2 separate regions of the Homo sapiens genome follow, and region 1 is linked to region 2. The links are contacts of gene promoters, found by promoter capture Hi-C in blood cells and fetal thymus (Javierre and others, 2016). All regions are on one chromosome and are shown on one strand. The core of a region is centred on a gene start or on the middle of the fragment in contact, and the rest is flanking DNA. Distances in the headings are between cores, read along the strand shown.

Region 1 (2,801 bases), core at 193-2,692, 510 kb before region 2:
AAATATTGACCACTTAAGCATGAGGCCCAGGGCCTGATGTTTTCCATTCGCCATCTAACTACGTCTTCCCAATAACACAGCGGGGCAAAACGGGAAGACGAAGAACGAGTACGATTATATCCCTGGTTTATAAAAGGGGAGAAACTGAGGCTCAAACATAGATGTCACTTGTCACCAGCCTGGCCAACACGGTGAAACTCCGTCTCTACTTACAAAAAAAAAAAAAAAATGGGAGGCTGACGCAGGAGAATTGCTTGAATCCGGGAGGCAGAGGTTGCAGTGAGCCGAGATCGCGCCACTGCACTCCAGCCTGGGTGACAGAGCGAGACTCCGTCTCAAAAAAAAAAAAAAAATTAGCCAGGAGTGGTGGCGTGCTCCTGTAATCCCAGCTACTCGGGAGGCCGAGGATGCAGTGAGCCGAGGTTGCAGTGAGCCGAGATCGCGCCATTGCACTCCAGCCTGGGGGAGAGTGAGGCTCCGTCTAAAAAAGAAAAAAAAAGAGAGAGAGAGACGTCACTTGTCCAGGATATCTTATCCAGTCAGTAGCACCACAAGGGTTAGAACCCTGGCCAGACATCCACCCAATTTCACGGGTGAACAGTTAACAGCCTCTGAGAGTCTTGTCCTCTCTGGGCCTCCGTAACACCCTCTCCAAACTAAGGGTCTCTCAGCAGATGGCCGGGTTTAGAGCTGTACGAAGACACACAGCTAATGAAAAATTGTGGAATTCTCAGAGCCCGTGAAGCCTAGCCCACGGATGCGAGGTTTGGACCACTGAGGGAACGCGCATGCGTGCTAGGCAGGGCAGTCCGAAGGCTTGGGGGTGTATCATAGGGTCTCATCGGAGGTTTGTTGGCCGTAAGACCCCTGGAATTGGAACTCTAAAAACACAGAAAGGATATGAGCTCAGGAGACTTGAACGAAAGAGTTGTCTTAGGAAGAGGGGTCAGAAGACAAGGGTGCTGGGCAAAAGGCTAGTTCTTCGAATCAGAATACGGTGGCCAGAAAGGTTCCTCTGACGAAAGAGGGGCGTGGTTCGAAGCCGTACAGTGGCCGGTAAAGCTCAAGAAACATGGAACGAAAAGGACGCGAAGAATCGGCAGGGAGAAGCGGACAGGATGTCCCGAAAGGCTCATATAACCGAAAAGGCGGGTTAATGTGAAGGGACGGAAGGGACAGAACTTGCGGGAGGCACATGCTGGCCGAGAAAGTCCTGGAGTTCGGAGCATACAGTGTTTTTATTAGGTGGAAACAAACGGGCTGGGAGAAAGACGAGTACGGTGGCCAGGTTGGTCCTTCCATAGCCGGAAGTGGCCTTCCTGAGAGGCGTGGCTGCGGCACTCTTGCCGGATAGGGTGGCCCGGCGGGGCTAGGAAAGCGTGAAATCTCGCGCGATTGCGCTGCGAAGTCGGGGACGGGGCGGGGCTGGCGGCGGGGGCGGGGACCCGGAGCGGGAAGATGGCGGCGGCGCAGGAGGCGGACGGGGCCCGCAGCGCCGTGGTGGCGGCCGGGGGAGGCAGCTCCGGTCAGGTACGGAGGCCGAGAGGGGACTGAGGGGGTTCTTCCCCAGCCGGGGGGCCTCCCACGGGGCGTGTCCTACCTCTTGTCACGGAATCCCGTGCACTGGGGGCTCCTTGGCCAGAGGGACCTTGAATACCCGGCCCAGGCAGGGCCGGACCGCCCGGGAGGCCGGACGGTGCCGGGAACAGGGCCCTGTTGCGGGTCGGTTCCCCTGCACGCTCGAGCCGGGCGGCCACCAGGCTCATTGCTCGATCCGGGGAGACAGTGGCTCGGAGGGGCGCAGGCTTGTACCTTGGCGCGCTGGGTTCTCAACTCCGCGATTCCATGCTCTGAGGCCGTTCCTAGAGTGGTCTGGCGTTCAGGTCTCGTTGTAGTGTTTGAGGTGTGCGCAGTGATTAATTGGGAGTTTTCTAGCTGTGGGGAAGTCAGTATTAGCAGGGCACGGCCGACAGACCCATTTTACAGACGGGAATTCAAGGAACAGTGAGACTAAGGCGCTTCTAGAAGGTCATCCTGGTTAGGTTTGTAACTTTATGTAGAAGTTACAAGACACTGCTGACACAGGGACTGGTATGGTTGTGGTTTTAATGTAAAATAGTTCTATGGGTTAATTAGTCCTGGTGCGGATGACTTCTGCCCCACTGCTGTCTTAACACACTGCAGAGCATACCATTTCAGGCAGCTACCGTTCAGGCATTTGGGGAATAGATGGAGAGACATGAAGGTGCTGTCGACCCACCCACTGGGATGTCACTGACATGTGGGAGGCAGCTCAGGGGAAAGGAGTGCGGGTTGAGAGGGGAGAATGAAGCTGACTCTCTGTGTGACCTTGGGCAAGTTCCTTTCCCTCTTTAGGCCTTTATCTCTCCCGTGTTAAATGCAGAGGTTGGACAGGAGGGCCAGCCATATCCCTGCTGTCAGGGGACGAAGAGAGGAGACTGACATGTAAACAGTTGTAATCCTGAATGATTAGGTTGGTGACAAAAGTCTGTGTCAGGGACTGGGGGAGCCCAGAGAAAGAGCAAGTGGTATCACTTGGGTAGGACACATGGATGAAATTTGTGTGATAGAGCCCACTGTATCTGCTCTGAATCTTTTCAGCATTCTCAGCCAGGGCCTGGCTTCAGGGACAGCTTAGGAAATGTTTGTTGAGTTAGTGCTGGAATGAAGGCTCAGTTCCTGTCTTCAAGGGTTTCCCAGTCTTGCTGAAAGGAGGTCGTTTCCCCTCTGGGTTTCTGTTGATTATTGGGTTGATGGTGGCTTGAGAGACCAGGGCCCAG
Region 2 (2,878 bases), core at 328-2,827:
ACAGGCCAGGCGCTGTGGCTCACGCCTGTAATCTCGACACTTCGGGAGGCCGAGGCAGGCGGATCACCAGGTCAGGAGTTCAAGACCATCCTGACCAATATGGTGAAACCCCGTCTGTACTAAACATATAAAAATTAGCTTGACGTGGTGGCCCGCGCCTGTAGTCCAGCAACTCGAGAGGCTAAGGTGAGGCGGAGGTTGCAGTGAGCCGAGATCGCCACTGCACTCCAGCCTGGCGGCAGAGCAAGACTCCGTCTCAAAAAAAAAAAAAAAAAAAAAAAAAAAAAGACCTGACAAGTGAAAGCTACTAATATTGCCATTATCATTTAAAAAAACCCCAGACACAGGTTTTTCAGGGAGTTTCATCCAACCAGGCAGGTCTCAGAAATCAGAAAAGAAATGGAAAGGGTAGGAAATCTGGAGTTTGACAATTCTGAGTTTGAATTTCTTGTGATGGGATCTTGGGCAAGTCATTTAACCTCCCTGAGTATCATTTTTTTCTTTTATAAAATGAAGATTTTTCTCTCTTAACCTTCCAGAGCTGTTTTAAGGATTACAAATCTTCTACTGAAAGGCGTAGCACAGGAGCTGTGCTTGGCAAGTGCCAAATACAAGGCATTAATTATTATTATTAGAATTAATAATAATATCCCCTCCCTCTTACACATTCTTTGTCTCCGGGTGGATTAAAAGGTGGAAGGAGAGGCTACCAACACCATCAGAAGAGAGGCTTCTCTCTAAGTTTCATTTCCCATCTCCTCCAAATCCGCATCCCTCCCAAACGCCGGACCTGTAAGGCCAGCAGGGTCCAAGACACACATCCTTTGCCCAGCGGGGAAGATTAAAGCTAAAGCTCAGAGAGGGAAAACATTTCCTAAGCTCGCACAGCGAATCAGGACAGAAACCAGGACGAGCCTCGGAATCCCTCCATTACCTCCACTTTCACCTGAGCATCACAGCCCGCTCGGGACTCAGTTTCCCCACCTACGTGACCACACCACACTAATCAGGGTCTCCTTTTGGAGATCTGCTCTTCTTCTCGAATGGGGGCGCTGCACCATCGGTAGAACAGGGTAGGTGGGGGCGCCAGAGGTGAAGGGGACCTGCAGGCTGGGGTCTTCCCCGCCCGGGTCAGCGGGGTCCCTGCGGGGCTAGTCTAAGCGCCTATTATTACCAGCCCCCGGGGCGGCGTTGCACTGCGCAGGCGCGGGCGGGGCGCGGGCGCGCGCGCGAGCGAGCGAGGGATTCCCTCTGACGTCATTGCTAGGATACCAAACAAACACTCCGCCGCGCCGGCCGAGCTCCTTATATGGCTAATTGCGTCACAGGAACTCCGGGAAGGCGGGGCCGGGATCCCCTCCCGCCGAGTGGCCCGGAACGCAACCCCCGAGACCCCCAGGGCCCCGAGGGTCATGCAAGTGACCAGATCGAGTCTAGAACAGACCTCTTGCTGGACAGTGCGGGACTCGATTTGGCGGGGCCGGAGATTTGGGGAAGTTTGTCCAGCAAGGGGCGGGTGACGTAAGCAGGGGGGCGGGTCCCGGGCATATAAATACAGGCTGGCGGGTCTGTGCTTCATTCATAAGACTCAGAGCTACGGCCACGGCAGGGACACGCGGAACCAAGACTTGGAAACTTGATTGTTGTGGTTCTTCTTGGGGGTTATGAAATTTCATTAATCTTTTTTTTTCCGGGGAGAAAGTTTTTGGAAAGATTCTTCCAGATATTTCTTCATTTTCTTTTGGAGGACCGACTTACTTTTTTTGGTCTTCTTTATTACTCCCCTCCCCCCGTGGGACCCGCCGGACGCGTGGAGGAGACCGTAGCTGAAGCTGATTCTGTACAGCGGGACAGCGCTTTCTGCCCCTGGGGGAGCAACCCCTCCCTCGCCCCTGGGTCCTACGGAGCCTGCACTTTCAAGAGGTACAGCGGCATCCTGTGGGGGCCTGGGCACCGCAGGAAGACTGCACAGAAACTTTGCCATTGTTGGAACGGGACGTTGCTCCTTCCCCGAGCTTCCCCGGACAGCGTACTTTGAGGACTCGCTCAGCTCACCGGGGACTCCCACGGCTCACCCCGGACTTGCACCTTACTTCCCCAACCCGGCCATAGCCTTGGCTTCCCGGCGACCTCAGCGTGGTCACAGGGGCCCCCCTGTGCCCAGGGAAATGTTTCAGGCTTTCCCCGGAGACTACGACTCCGGCTCCCGGTGCAGCTCCTCACCCTCTGCCGAGTCTCAATATCTGTCTTCGGTGGACTCCTTCGGCAGTCCACCCACCGCCGCCGCCTCCCAGGTAAGTTTTTGATAGTAGGGGTGCTGCTTTGTAGGTTTTATTTTTTAAGTCAAGGGTGAAAAGAATAAACCCCAACCCCCACAAAAAGGCGCATCAGAACCCTAGATCTGAGATGGAAAAGGCTCACAGCGCACTTTGCAAACTGCAAAGAGTCGGGAGATGTTTGCAATTGGTTGCGTGCGTGGAGCGCAAGGAGGGAACGCGGCAGGGAGGGTAGGCTTTGGGGCGAGGTGGGGGTGGGGTGGGTAATGCGCTGCTCAATGCAACGTGTATGCGGTAGCGGGGCTGAGAACTTTGAGCCGGCCCCGGGACTGCCCCCTGCTCGGGTCCCAGACCTGAAGCTAGCGCAGTTAGGCAGGTGGGGGAAATCCCGGGGAAGCTTCCAGCAGTCTCTTTTCCTTTCCTCCTCCTTCGGAGCGCCCACTTCGGTGCCGGGTCGCCCTCCACCCATCGGGAAGAGGGGCCTCGAACCCTCAGCCGCGCTGCCTCCGCCTCCTGCGCGGAGACGTAACGGGGGACCCGTGCGTAACGGCTGACGCGCTGGAATCCTCCGTCTGACGCGGGGCACGCACGGCGCGCGGCGC

What was found. Contacts are between HindIII fragments. The CHiCAGO score rates a contact against its expected background, and 5 or more counts as called.
Region 1: the fragment with the promoter of CLPTM1 here is called in contact with the fragment with the promoter of FOSB in region 2 in 2 of 17 cell types (naive CD4 T cells and activated CD4 T cells); the score reaches 5.3 in naive CD4 T cells.

Annotation. Positions count from the first base shown.
Region 1 is chr19:44,953,938-44,956,738 of GRCh38, forward strand. CLPTM1 (CLPTM1 regulator of GABA type A receptor forward trafficking) reads left to right here and starts at 1,443. Exons shown (of 14, transcript NM_001294.4): 1 at 1,443-1,530. The coding sequence starts at 1,459. RefSeq lists a silencer at 1,366-1,695. The HindIII fragment of the contact is 4,299 bases long and covers 1-2,801 here.
Region 2 is chr19:45,466,419-45,469,296 of GRCh38, forward strand. FOSB (FosB proto-oncogene, AP-1 transcription factor subunit) reads left to right here and starts at 1,578. Exons shown (of 4, transcript NM_006732.3): 1 at 1,578-2,294. The coding sequence starts at 2,169. RefSeq lists a silencer at 1,215-1,494 and an enhancer at 1,679-2,580. The HindIII fragment of the contact is 2,687 bases long and covers 1-2,671 here.